2 separate regions of the Homo sapiens genome follow, and region 2 is linked to region 1. Evidence: promoter capture Hi-C in human tissues and cell types (Jung and others, 2019). All regions are on one chromosome and are shown on one strand. The core of a region is centred on a gene start or on the middle of the fragment in contact, and the rest is flanking DNA. Distances in the headings are between cores, read along the strand shown. Region 1 holds the start of CLPSL2 (colipase like 2). Region 2 overlaps MAPK14 (mitogen-activated protein kinase 14).

The links. Contacts are between HindIII fragments. The study calls those that stand out against the background at their distance.
Region 2: a fragment that was not itself captured here is called in contact with the fragment with the promoter of CLPSL2 in region 1 in 1 of the 25 tissues and cell types used here (IMR-90 fibroblasts).

Annotation. Positions count from the first base shown.
Region 1 is chr6:35,772,104-35,778,886 of GRCh38, forward strand. CLPSL2 (colipase like 2) reads left to right here and starts at 4,495. Exons shown (of 3, transcript NM_207409.4): 1 at 4,495-4,599; 2 at 5,356-5,478. The coding sequence starts at 4,516. It also overlaps the pseudogene CMPK1P1. RefSeq lists a silencer at 4,476-4,605. The HindIII fragment of the contact is 15,017 bases long and covers 3,902-6,783 here.
Region 2 is chr6:36,093,579-36,100,667 of GRCh38, forward strand. MAPK14 (mitogen-activated protein kinase 14) reads left to right here. Exons shown (of 12, transcript NM_139012.3): 9 at 2,409-2,488. Among named protein-coding and RNA genes, the nearest start is that of MAPK13, 33 kb to the right of the region's middle. The HindIII fragment of the contact is 3,890 bases long and covers 3,559-7,089 here.

The DNA of each region.
Region 1 (6,783 bases), core at 3,245-5,744:
CGGCCCTCTCCTGCCAGGGTCCGGGACATACAACCTTGAGGCCTCCACCTCCTCACCTCCAAACACTTCCCACTCTGGTCCTCTTCTCTAGGAAGGCTTTGCTGATCTATCTTTGCATATCAAACTCTTAGGGCACCCACTCGTTCCTCACTCTCCCCAGATTACTTTTAGAGTTCCTTCAGGAAGGACTTGAGTAATGCGCAATTTTCATGAGGTCAGTTTTCCCCAGAATTTTATTTTGGATTTCAAAGACTGATAAGACTTCCAAAAAATTCTGAGGACTAACAGAATTTGTGCACATATATTTAATATATTGGCCAAAAGCCAGTTTCGGTGGCTCAAGCCTGTAATCCCAGCACTTTGGGAGGCCGGTGGATCACCTAAGATCAGGGGTTCAAGACCAGCCTGGCCAACATGGTGAAACCCTGTCTCTACTAAAAAAAATACAAAAAAATTAGCCAGGCGTGGTGGCGGGCGCCTGTAATCCCAGCTACTTGGGAAGCTGAGGCAGGAGAATTGCTTGAACCTGGGAGGCAGAGGTTGCAGTGAGCCAAGATGGCACCTCTGCACTCCAGCCTGGGTGACAGCGCAAGACTTGGTCTCAAAAAAAAAAAAAAAGTATATATATATATATATATATATATATGCGCCAAAAAAGAACATGAACAATGAAACAAAACTACTACTGTATCGTGGCTATTATTGCTTTTTTAAAATATATTTTTAAATATTTTATTTTATTTTTTACCTCCAAATACCATCACCATTTTATTTAATTATTATTACTTTTTTGAGACAGTCTATCTCTGTCACCCAGATTGGAGTGCAGTGGCATGGCTCACTGCAGCCTCAACCTCCCAGGCTCGAGATCCTCTCACCTCAGCCTCCCATGTATTTGGGACCATAGGCAGATGCCACCATGCCCAGCTAATTCTTTTATTTTTTGTAGAGACAGAGGTCTCACTTTGTTGCCAGGTTGGTCTTGAACCCCTGATCGCCATTATTTCATAAAAGCACATTTTAACACCAAAGAAGTAGAAAAGACATAATTTCAGAATAAATAATTACTTTTTAAATTAAATACATTTCCCTGCCTGGGCAATATGTTGAGACGCTACCTCTACTAAAAATGCAAGAATTAGCTGGGCGTGGTGGCGCGCGCCTGTATTCTCAGCTACTTGGAGGGGGGCTGAGGCAGGAGACTTGCTTGAACCCAGGAGGCGAAGGCTGCAGTGAGCCCAGATCGCGCTACTGCACTACAGCCTGGGTGACACCTCAAAAACAAATTTTTTTTTAATAATAATAAATTGAATATATTTACCTTTAACAAAAACACTACTACATTATCCTTATTGTTTTCATTTTGCTGCAGACCAGTGAGAACATTGTCATGGAAACCACCACTTGCACCACCAGAAAGATGCAGAAGAAAAGAAGTGAGACGTTAGAGACTGTCAGAGGAGGGGAAGGTGAAGAGGCAGGAAATAGGGGGTAAGAAGTCCACCAGCAAGGTGCTCCCCTGTCCTGAACTGACCCCCTTCTGCTCACTGAAGTCTGAGGTGGCCAGTTTTGGGCCCTGGGCAGAGCTGTGGCCATGCTCACAGGTCAGGCAGCTCAGGGATTCCCGGCGCTGGAGACCCTGGTGATCTTGTTCCTACTCCCCCGCAATGCAGAGGTACCCTGGACATGTGCCTGTGACCGGTGCTGGCAGGCCATGGTACAGGACTTGGAGTCAGGAGCAGAGCTAGGCCTGGCTCTGCTACTCACCAGCTGAGTTACTGGGAGAAGTCCCTGCCTTCTCTGGGCCTCGGTTTCCTCAACTGAAAATAAAGGTTCTGAACTAGTTGTTTTTGAGGAAACCGGAAGATCTCTGGCTTAAGAAAAAAAAAAGCCATGCCCATAATATTTTGTACAGAATTCCAGGGGCTTCACCACCCCTCAGGGCCTTCAGTGGGTTCCCCAGGGGCTGCTAACCCTGACACGCAGTTGCTGGCCCCTTGCCTTCAAATTTGCCACTTTCCTAAGCAGTCAACAATACTTCTCAAGTATCTAACGGTCATGGGGGTATGGGCAAAGGAAGCCGGTGAAGCAGTACAAGGAAGTATCCATCCCCAGGCCTCCTCTCCAGTTCACAAATGGTCTGCGTGGATGGGTCGCTAGTCAGCCAAGGTAGCAGAACACACATATGAAGAGAGCTCAGACCGCGACTGCTGGAGCCCCCTTACTAGGTAATGATGGGAACCCCCTTACTAGGGCCAAAGCCCTCTGGCCGCCCGCAGCAGTGTAGATCAGTGGTAAGAACTTGGACCCAGGAGCTAGAATGCCCTGGATTTATATCTGACTCTGCCATTTAATCCTGTTCCTTGGGCAAGTAACTTTATCTTGAGCCTTCAGGTTCCTAGTCTGTAAAACAGGGCTAAGAGTTACGCAGCAGAAATGATAGTAGATGCTAAATATTCCAAGACTCCTTTGAATTTCCCAGCCTCCCTTGCAGAAGGTTAGAGGGTTGGGATCATGTGACTAGTTCCAGCAGGTGGTTTGTGAGTGGAGAAGGCAGGTCTTCCATGGAGACCTTGGATGCTAGTTTTTTTTTTTTTTTTTGAGACAGGGTCTCACTCTGTTGCCCATGCTGGAGTGCAGTGGCACGATCATAACTCACTGCAGCTTCAGCCTCCCGAGTAGCCAGGACTACATGCATGTGCCACCATGTCTGGCTAATTTCTTAAATTTTTTTTGTAGCAATGAGGTCTCACTATATTGCCCAGGGCTGGCCTTGAACTCCTGAGCTCACGAGATCCTCTCAGCCGGGCATGGTGACTCCCACTGGTAATCCCAGCACTTTGCGGAGGTTGCAGTGAGCCGAGATTGTGCCATTGCACTTCAGCCTGGGCAATAGCGTGAGACTCTGTCTCAAAAAAAAAAAAAAAAAAAAAAAAAAAAAAAACCAAAAAAACCCCCAAAACAACTGATCCTCTCTCCTTGGCCTCCCGAAGTGCTGTGAATACATGCATGAGCCACCATGCCCAGCCAGAGGCCAGTCTTATAGATGGCTACAGGATGGAAGAAGGGTATCTTGCCCCAAATCAGACTGTACATAAAGCATTATTGTGCCAAGCCACGAAATTCCAGGAGTTCTGTTGTTACAGCCAGTGTTAATTACTCTGTGACAGCTAGTGTTAATACAGGGAGGGCTCACGGAAATAATGGATACAAGGCCCTCTGAGTGCGGTGGGGGCTGTTATTCTTGGCTGTTATTCCCCACCAAGACAGGATTCCTCGGTTCATTTCTTAAGCGAAACTTCAAAAGCAGAAGCAGGCTGGGAGTGGTGGCTCACGTCTGTAATCCCACCACTTTGGGAGGCCGAGGCAGGAGAATCTCTTGAGCCCATGAGTTCAAGACCAGCCTGGACAACATAAGGACAACCTGTCTCTATAACAAATATTAACAATACAAAATTAAAAAAAAATAGAAATTAAAAAAAAGCAGAAGCAGGCAGGTGGGGTGAGGTGGAAGCTTCATCCATAGGGAAGTCCTGAGGAAGGCCTGCCTCCCCCGGTTCCAGGATTGCTCTGTGCAGCTCTAGCTCTCCCTTAACCCTCCTCCCTATTCTGAGTTTTCTTCTCTTCCCACTTCTCCATTTTGCCCCCACATCTTGACTTTCACACAATTCACAGACAAATCCTTAGACAATTAATAGAATGATTAAGACTGCAAGAGATTTAAGACTTAGAGACCATCTTGTCCCACCTCCTGGTTCTTACAGAAGAGGAGAATGGGGCCTGCAGCGGGTGTGAGCAGCCCAGAGGGTGGGGCTGGATTATCCCGAAGGTAAGGGGAGAATCTGGGGCTGCAAGGGCAGACAGAGAATCAACATCAGGAAGGAAGCTCTTTTTATTTCAGCATATATGTTTTGTGCCGTTTATAAAAATAAAGTTTTGAGGCCAGGTGCGGTGGCTCACACCTGTAATCCCAGCACTTTGGGAGGCTGAAGCAGGACCATCACTTGAGGCCAGGAGTTAGAGACCAGCCTGGGCGACATGGGGAGACCCCCGTCTCTACAGAAATTTTTAAAATTATCCCGGCGTGGTGGCGCACACCTGTAGTCCCAGCTACTCGGGAGGCTGAGGCAGGAGGATCACTTGAACCTGGGAGGCGGAGATGGCAGTGAGCCGAGATCACGCCACTGCACTGGGCGACAGTGCGAGACTCCGTCTGTAAAATAAATAAATACAATAAAATAGAGTTTTATCTTACAATAAAAATAGAGTTTTATCTTACAGTTTCAAGCTTCTACTTGGAAGTAACACGTATGGAGGCTCCCAGGGCCCCTACAGTCTGGAATCCCGCCCGTGCGAGCCTGAGCGCCTTTCCTCCCTCCTTCCCTTCCGCAGGCGTCCTCGCCCTCCACGTCCCTCCTCCGCCGGGGTGGCCTGGGGCGCCGGGTCACGTGGCCGGGGAAGAGGTTTTATCCCGCGGCCCCTCGGAACCCCGCCGCTGCTCTGCCGCCCAGGCCCATGGCCGCAGCCCTGGCGCTCGTGGCGGGGGTCCTGTCGGGGGCGGTGCTGCCCCTCTGGAGCGCGCTTCCGCAATATAAAAAGGTGAGCCGGGGAGCGCGCCCAGCCGGCCGCGACCGCAGGAGAGGGTGGCCCCGCCGCCGGGGCACTGGAGCCCGAAGGCGCCGGGCAGCCTGAAAGGGAGAGGTGGGTCCGGAACCACACCCAGGCGGGTAGCCTGGGGCATCCTCAGACGGACTTCAAAAGCCGCTTCACTTTCCCCTGGTGGCCTCAGAGGGGAGAGAAATTGGCCTATGACCAGCACCCTCGCTCCCTCCACCTCCCCCGCCCGTGCCCCTTCCGATGGCCTCAGTCCTGGGCTCGCTTCCCTCCCCAAACTGCTCACAGGCAAACCCACCCTGCATGCTCTGGTTTCTCCTCCTCTTCTTCCACCTCCTCTCACTGTCTAGTGATTCTTCCAGGCACGAGGGCTCTCCCCTTTTCTCCTCTTTCTCTCCCTCTTTTTCGAGCCCGCAGCCCCTTCATTCTCATCCCCCAACCCTGCCCCGCAAAATGGGACTTAAGAGTACACACCCCATGGGACTCATGGAGGTGAGGGGGGTCCAGGAAAGGAGAGGCCGAGGGAAAAGTGCTAATCCCCCTCTCCTCCTCTCTGCTGCCCTGGGTCCTGCTGAGGGGCCGGGGTGGGGCTGGGGGGGGAACCAGCCCCCCAAGGGGTGACAACCTCATGACTTCTCCTGGATCCCTGGGCTCTTTGGCAATGGTGGGAACCCTCCCCTACCCGCCCACACGACTCAGGGATTGCTCCCAGCCTGGCAGACATTCTGCCTGTCCCCACAGAAAATCACAGACAGGTGCTTCCACCACTCTGAGTGCTACAGTGGCTGCTGCCTCATGGACTTGGACTCCGGTGGAGCCTTCTGTGCCCCCAGGGCCAGAATAACCATGATCTGCTTGCCCCAGGTGAGGCCCTAGTATGGGGCAACTTCTGGCAAGTAGAGAAGCGGGCAGGGAGGTTAAAAAAAAAACACCTGGCCCCACCTGTTTTTTCACCTCTGTCTGGAGTGCCCTTCTTCTTCTCCACTTGGCAAACTCCTACTCATGGTGCAAAACAACTCCAGCCACCTCCTCTGAGAAGGCTTCCCTCCTTGGAGCTCCTGTACCCTGGGGTCAGACCCTCAGCAGACCATGTATCTCCCTAACTGGCCATGTCTTTTCTCTGCCTCTCCCAGTGGTTGGAACTCTTCAAGGGCAGGGATCGCATCATATTCATCTATGAAGCACCTACCCCCAGCTTAGTATCTGCACATAGTAGGTGCTCAATAAATGCTTATTGTTGTTTGTTTGTTTGTTTCGAGATGGAGTCTCGCTCTGTCACCCAGGCTAGAGTGCAATGGCATGATCTCGGCTCACTGCAACCTCTGCCTCCTGGGTTCAAGCGATTCTTGGGCCTCAGCCTCCCGAGTAGCTGGGATTACAGGGGTGCACCGCTATGCCTGGCTAATTTTCGTATCTTTGGTAGAGATGGGGTTTTGCCATGTTGGCCAAGCCGGTCTTGAACTCCTGACCTCAGGTGATCCACCTGGCTCGGCCTCCCAAGGTGCTGGGATTATAGGCATGAGCCACCGTGCCCGGCCAATAAATGCTTGTTGAATGAATGAATATCTCTTCTCTCACACCACTGAGGCAGGGTAAGTAGGAAATGACCTTCCCCTTACTAGTCCCCATCTCCCTGCCACAGTGACATGATTTCTTGAGAGGAGCATGGCACTGCAGTGGCAGGACCACAGCTTTGCAGTTGGACCTGAGTTTAAATCCTGACTTTTCCACACCCTATCTTTGTGACTTCAAGCAGGTCATCATGGCTCTCTGAGCCTTAGTTTCCTCATCTACAAGGAGAGGCTAAAGTACCTACCCCACCAGGCTGTTGGGAAGATTATGTGGTCCTGGCAAGGAGAGTGTGCAGTCCAGCATGGTTGTCACTCGCTTTTAGGAATGCAGGGAGCAGAATGCTCAGTACGCCCTGTTCCTGCCCACCTGGCCCTGGGCCCAAACCTTTCTAGGATGGATGGACCCAGCCTCTATGTCCCTGTGTGGGGAGTTGCCAATGCCCTAAGGAAGCAGCAGGGCCCCTACCATGGCCTGACCCTATAGCTGAAGTGGCTAGAGGGTTTTTATTTTTTTTATTTTTTGAGACAGAGTTTTGCTCTTGTTGCCCAGGCTGGAGTGCAATGGCGTGATCTTGGCCCACTGCAACCTCCACCTCCT
Region 2 (7,089 bases), core at 4,254-6,753, 320 kb after region 1:
TGTGGTGGCAGGCGCCTGTAGTCCCAGCTACTCTGGAGGCTGAGGCAGGAGAATGGCGTGAACCTGGGAGGTGGAACTTGCAGTGAGCCGAGATCGCGCCACTGCACCCCAGCCTGGGCGACAGAGCGAGAGACTCCGTCTCAAAAAAAAAAAAAAAAAAAAAAACAACTGACTCTCATTGTTAAGTAGTCAGAAAGAAGTCTCTTAAACAAGAGTACCAATATCAAAAGCTTCATTTTAGAGATTACTTTTGATGCATATATTGTAAAGCCACTTGTTTGAGATTTGAAGTAGTCAAGATTTTTCCCATATATGATTTACTTTATCTTGTGGTGGCTACCCAGTTAAATATATTCCTGAAGAGTGTTAATGTGAGGAAACTAAATTTTTTGAATTGAGTCATTTTAGATGAGCAAGAATTTTTTTTACTGATTTCTATTGTAATATAATTAATCTGATTATTTTAGAGCAAGACAGTATCCATCCCACCCCCATTCCTACTCTGTCCCATGAACATATGCTATAAGATTTTTTACTTGTCAACATCTTGAACTGAGAAGCCAGTATTAAAATCTTAACCTTTATAACACAATGATTTTTGCCATTTGCAGATGACAAAATTCCCTGTTATTCTTAATTTAGAAATAATGTGAGTGGACTTGTTTCTAGTTTGTTTTTGCTTGCTAAAGAACACAAGTTGTTTGGGTTTAGGGTGGGGTTTGGCGCACCTTTTCTGAAAGGGCCAGGTAGTTAATATTTTAGGCTTGGGAACCATATGGTAACTGTGCTTGTTGTAATTGGAAACACCTATAGACTGTACATAAATGAATGGGCATGGCTGTGTTCTAATAAAACTTTATATATAAAACAGGCAGAGCCTGGGGTTTGGTGACTCCAGCCTAGAATTTTCTTCCATTTAAGCTGATTTCATGTCTGAAAGAAAGTAAAAGACAGGATGTCAAATTACTGCATTAAGTTATTCCTATAACGTAGGCACCTGTGGCTTATAGAGACTGTTGTTTTTAAGTGCTGCTATGTTGCCTTTATATGTATAACCATAAGCAAAAATTTCTTTCATCCTGCTCTACCTTTTCCTCAAATATTTTGACTACCTGTCATGTACCAGATGTTAGGCTGGGGATAAATGGTGAAGAGGCAGAGTGGCCCCTGTCCTCGTAGAGCTGTAGACCAGTACAGGGGGCAGACAGTAAGCAAATAAAGTAATTCTAGGCTGTGATAAGCACTATGATGTTATCAAGCATGGTGCTGAGAGAGAATTGGGGGGTGGGGTGTTATGTATATAGAGTGTTGAGGGGAGGCCTCCCTTAGGAGGTGAAGTTGAAGCTGAGACCTGAAGCCAAGAGGATTTAGTCATGTGAAAAACCTGATGGGTCAGAAGACAGTCATCCTCCCCTTCTCCCTCCCTGGAATGTCAGTCAGTATAAACGTGGATAAACTGTTCACATTTTCAGAGGAAATATTAAAAGCTATTTTATAATATTTTTCCCCCTCTTTTTAACTTCCTTTTTAGGTAAGATTAAAAGCAATGAGAACAAACAAATTTTTGTCTTCTGGTTAACACATGCACATACATTCTGAGTATACATTGAAGTGTTAGCTACCAGGATAAAAGTTATGGCATTGTGGCCTATTATTTAGAGCCTTTGGGATGTGTGAAGTTTGTTAAGCATTGTTCATTTGCATTTTATAAGGTTGAAACCGCCTGTATTTGCGTTCTCATGGCGCTCCTAAAGGAACATGCGATGGGAGAGCGCCCTCTGCTGGCGACTCTCCCTCATAGTGCCTGCTATAGCCAGTGTGAGAGGCGAGGCTTCCCTTTCCAGAGGGTGTGCTCCAGTGGTCAGGCTTTGGGGTCTCACAGGCCTTCCACTGTCATATCACAAGCTCTTTAGGTCACGCTTGGGAGAATATTCATAAATAGACTTGTACATCCCTAGCTCCTGTCTTCTGCTGCTTTTTTCCTTATCTGTGGCCCTCTAATTATCAGTGCACTTTGCTGAACTGGTTACTGACACTGTGATGGCAGATGAAGAGGGCAGTGTAAACTGAGTGAAGCTCTTGTGTTTTCACCTGCTGTCTTTGGCAGCTAAGAACCAGCTAAAGTTGCCTCACTTTACTGATACATGCTGTTGACAGATGCATAAAATGAATATAAAGTGGATATGTGTTTGGTAGCATTTTGAATCTTTGTACAGGAGGAGCATGCCCTACGTGAAGTGATCATCCTGCAGGAGCCTTGACCTAGAGGGATTCACCGTGTTGGCTAGGTTTGGGGTGTTTCATTTTTGTTCTCGGTGTGTTCTGTTTGTTTGTTTTTGTTTTGTTTGTCATTGTTTGTTTTTCATTTTTATTTTGTCCCAACATTTTCCTTTATGGTCCACCATTAGATATTGATCAGTTGAAGCTCATTTTAAGACTCGTTGGAACCCCAGGGGCTGAGCTTTTGAAGAAAATCTCCTCAGAGTCTGTGAGTTGATGCTTTGTAATTATCTGCCCTGTTGGGAGCCTCTGCCACTTGCCTTCTACCAATCTGTACTTTGACCTGGGTGTGTTTGTAAGCACACATGCCCTTTGTGTGCTGACTTCCCGGATGAGTGAGGTATAAGACAGTGTGAGTGTGTGTGTGCGTGCACGCATGTGTGCCTGCTTGCATGCACAAGTGTGTTTTATTCTCTATCTGGGTACACACTAAGATCACGGGAGCCTCCATTAGACAATAGTATCCCAGTAAAGCAATGAGATTTGAGATTCTAATTCATTCCAAGAGATTAATGTAAACTTTGTGTCTCTGTCCTCAAGACCTGACTTTCTTCTTTCTCAGAAGTTTCACGTATGCTCTAGAGCTCTTTTCACTGTTTCTAGTGTTTGTTCTCAGAGCATGAGCTTCACCATGTATTTAGTTTAACTTAATCACTAAAAGAATAAAATGTACATTGTCTGCACACTGTTGCCCCTTCCCAGAAGTTATTTTTTATTGTTTTAGAATAGATACTCACATATCCTATGTAAAATGTTTGTTCCCAACAGAGGGACCTTTCTACCCAGTCCCTAGACCCCACTCAGAAGAAACAGCTTCACTCCTGATACCTCAGATACACAGGAATGTGGTTATAAATTTTCCTCCTATTGCCTTGTAATTATAAGTTAGATAACCTGAGACAGAGTTTGGAACTAGTGCTTTCTTGCTTCTAAGCAGGGACTTAGACAGAAGCCATGGGAATGTGAGTCTGGCTTACTTTTGCTATGATTTCCTGCTCTTGGTCATTTTCTTGGGCCAGAGGCATGAGAGAAGCCATGAAAGCCCAGCTTTTCTTTTTCCCTCGATCTGCTGCCAGGCAGTTGAACAAAAGAAAAAAAGAGCTATGGAGCCAAGCTCCAGTTATGCCTTCCTGGATTCTCCTCCCAACATTTATGACTGAAGGGGCCCTTTGCCTAGTTGGGAAGATGGCTGGGTAGCTTGAGGCAAGCATAAGCAGGTGAGTTGGAACCGTTCATCATCTTCCTGACAAAATAAAGAATACCGTCATCTGGTATGTATCCGGTACATTTCTTGAAAGGATCCCAAAGCCCAGTGTATTTCTGAACCTCCACTCTGAATTTGTTTCATTTACTTATTTAAGATAAAGAAGCAAAAGCCCAGAAGGGCAGTGACTTTTCCATGTCATGCACTGAATCACGTGGCAGAGCTGAGTATAGATCCCAGATGTTCTGATAACATGATCCAAACTATAATCCCATGTGATTACACACTATTTTGAAAGTCATTGTCAGTGTTACCACAATGTCAACCTAAAGAGGTATTTTTTTCTCCTTTATGATATGTAGAAGCTGAATTAGAGTGAATCAAAGATATCAGATGATGCTTAGAAAGAGCAGTACTTTTTTTTTAATGTTTTTGCTTAGAAACACTGTCTTACAGTAAGAGGACCTAAGGGCAGAGGGAGGAGCTCAATTAATAAATAGTGCTAATGAGACCAAGCAAATTCATTTCCTTCCTGAGAGTGTCTCCTAGCAGCCCTTTCTTAGTCTTCTCTTCCATCCCAACCATCTGCCCTATAGATACGTGCTATTAGTCATTTGGAATTGGATTAGGAATTCAAACCAAAGTCTAGGTAAAATAGTCAATAGTATTTATCTGTCATTAATCCATCACTTATTTTTAAGAAAGAAACAATGAGTGCACAGCCTAATAATGGAGGTCTCTCTGTGAAATGAGGCACATTATACATTTCAACAGCTCTACTGAAATTGAGTACCAGAATACAGAACTTAACTCAAATAATATTATATTGAGTATAAGAATAAGAAAGGTTTTTTTTTTTGGTTTGTTTCCTACATAATTGGGGTGAGTGGATAAAAGTAGTTTAAACATCCTAAGGGGTAGACAAGATTAATTTGATGTTCGTGACACGGCCCAAGTACCTGTTTATCTTAAAAGCGCATGATGTATGGGAACAGAATGGAAAAATAAGGCCAGGTGAGTAAAATTGTTCAGAGATTTTAAAAATTAAAAAAAGAAAAAAGACATTAGTGAAGGAGTGCAGTAAATAGCCAACAGCTGTTTTCATTCTCCTGAAAAGTAGTGAAGTAGTGATGGCAATAATTATGAAGAAATTGAATGCCGAGTAAGAGAATGCAGTAATGGATTTAGAACCTATTAGAATGAGCCATAGGAAAAGGTATAAATGGGTTGTGATGGAGGCCAAGGACAGAGAATTCATTTGGTTAATGTCCCAGTATCTATAATAATCAGTGAAAGAACAAGAAAATCATATTAAGAAAGCAAAAGCAGACTGGGCACAGTGGCTCACATTTGTCATCACAGCACTTTGGGAGGCTGAGGCAGGAGGATCACTCGAGGCCAGGAGTTTGAGGCTGCAGGGAGTGGTGATCATGCACTGCACTCCAGCCTGGGCAACAGAGCAAGACCTTGTCTTTAAAAATAAATAAACTAATTAATTAAATTAGATAAAAAAGCGAAGACCTGACTCATTCACATTTTCCTCCAGAAATAGAATCTTTCTAACTTCTTGACAGAAAGGGGATATAATAACCTCTTTGACTAAAGGAGACAAAGACAGAAAATGTGCAGGCCAGGTATCATTCACAGAAAGAAAGGGGAAGTGGAGGATTTTTACATTTTAAGACCCAACTGGTATTCTGCTATTGCTGGTTTACTTTGTGGCCCCTTTTTGTTATTTCCCTTGGCATGAAAAGTATCATTTGTTATGTGATTTGTTAAAGGTAACTCTAAATTCTGTTATCTGTACTCCTAACAAAATAAAGAATTCCATCATCTGGTATGGATCTGTTAACGTTTCTTAAAAGGACCGCAAATCAAAGTGTATTTCCTATCCCCTTTTGGAATTTACTGGCCTCTGTCTTTGGGCTTAGGGAGCGTAAAAGGCAGCGTGGAGCACATGGCTCTAGCTCCCTCCCTGTGGCCAGCCTTAAACAGATTACTGCTAAGTCATCTGACCACTAGGGAGTTCAGTTCAGAGGACGAGCTAAAGTAGAAAAATTATTTGGGAAAGCCATGAAGTAAAATTGCTTGGCCATGGTGCTTATTAAAGATGACACTTCACCTGAATGAGGGAATTAGTAGTTAACAAGAACAGGACTAGAAAAGGGGTTTATTGAATTACATTGAATATTTTTAAAATCTCATCACTTCTGCTCTTAGTAGGAACATGATAAACAGTTCTGACATTTTAGAAGAGGGTGAGTTGTATTAACATTGATGGAACAGTTAAAAGAGAGAAGTTGTAGTACAGCTTACATATGTGCCTATACATATAGAAAATCTCATAGTTCTGCCCTTATCAGATGCTTGCAGAGTATTCTGCAGACTTCCCTCCAGCTGTTTGTTAAATGAGGTTAGTCTGTTCGCTAGTTGAAGAGACTTGTGGAGGAAATCATGTGGCATGCTTTAACACTCTCAGCAGCCTGTGACTTCTGTTTTGCCTTTGCCATTAGCCTCTAACCTTCTCCTCTTCTCCTCTTTCTTCATTTACCATTTTGTGTTTGTGGCAAGTATTTTAAATGTACCACTAACTAATGTCTTTGAAATGTGGCATTGCTTATTAACCCAGATGCCCACGTGTGTCTTAATTCGGAGGGATGGTGCCTTGGAGAACCTGTGCCGCAAAAGTTTAGTCTCTTCCTTGAATGGATATGTTGGATATTTTATTTTGTTCAAAGTTGAGTCAAAATTTTTGGAATCATCTATATTTCTCCCACAAACAGGTTTTGGCCATCAGTACTTGAAAACAGTTCTATGGCTGGCATCCTGGATCAAGGGGCAGTCTGTTTCCAGGGAACCTAAAATATTTAACAGTAAAGATGATGCTAAAACCAAAGAAAAGTAATTTTTCTTATCTGCATGGCCAGTCACTGGCTACGTGCCTAGTTACTCATGTCATTCACAGAAGTGTACTGTAGCATGCAGCTGTGGGCTCTCGGGTAGGGGGAATGGAGGGTAGGTTTTTTTGTCTGTTTGGGGGTGGCTTTTTGACCTTTTTAAAAACTTGAGTTGAAAATTATTTTTTGCACTGTATGTTTAACAATGCCCTTGACTAGGCATCTAAGATATTAACCAGCTTCAGCAGATTATGCGTCTGACAGGAACACCCCCCGCTTATCTCATTAACAGGATGCCAAGCCATGAGGTGAGAACAAAGAGACTGTACAGGGATGTCGCACTGAGAAGCCACATTCTCATTTTATTGCCACCGTATAACCAACAGTTCTTAACATCACTGGATGCTTGCATGTGCCTTGAGGCCTGCCTATGTGCTATTGCAAGATGTTGACTTTTGGGATAAAATGTCATCCAGTCCTGTGAGATTGGGAATATAATTAGTAAGCTTGTAAATGGAAAATTGTTATTTTTATATTTGGTTGTGTGAATTTAGTGCTTGTGAGGCGGTTTCTTTCTAGGTGCTCTGCCTGTAGCTAGGGTGTGCTACTATCGTGACCTTTATCAGAAGGGTAGTTAACTGAAGTCCATTAGCATGCTTTCCAATTCATCCATTTTTTTAATGACCAAAAGAGGATTCTTTATTTAAA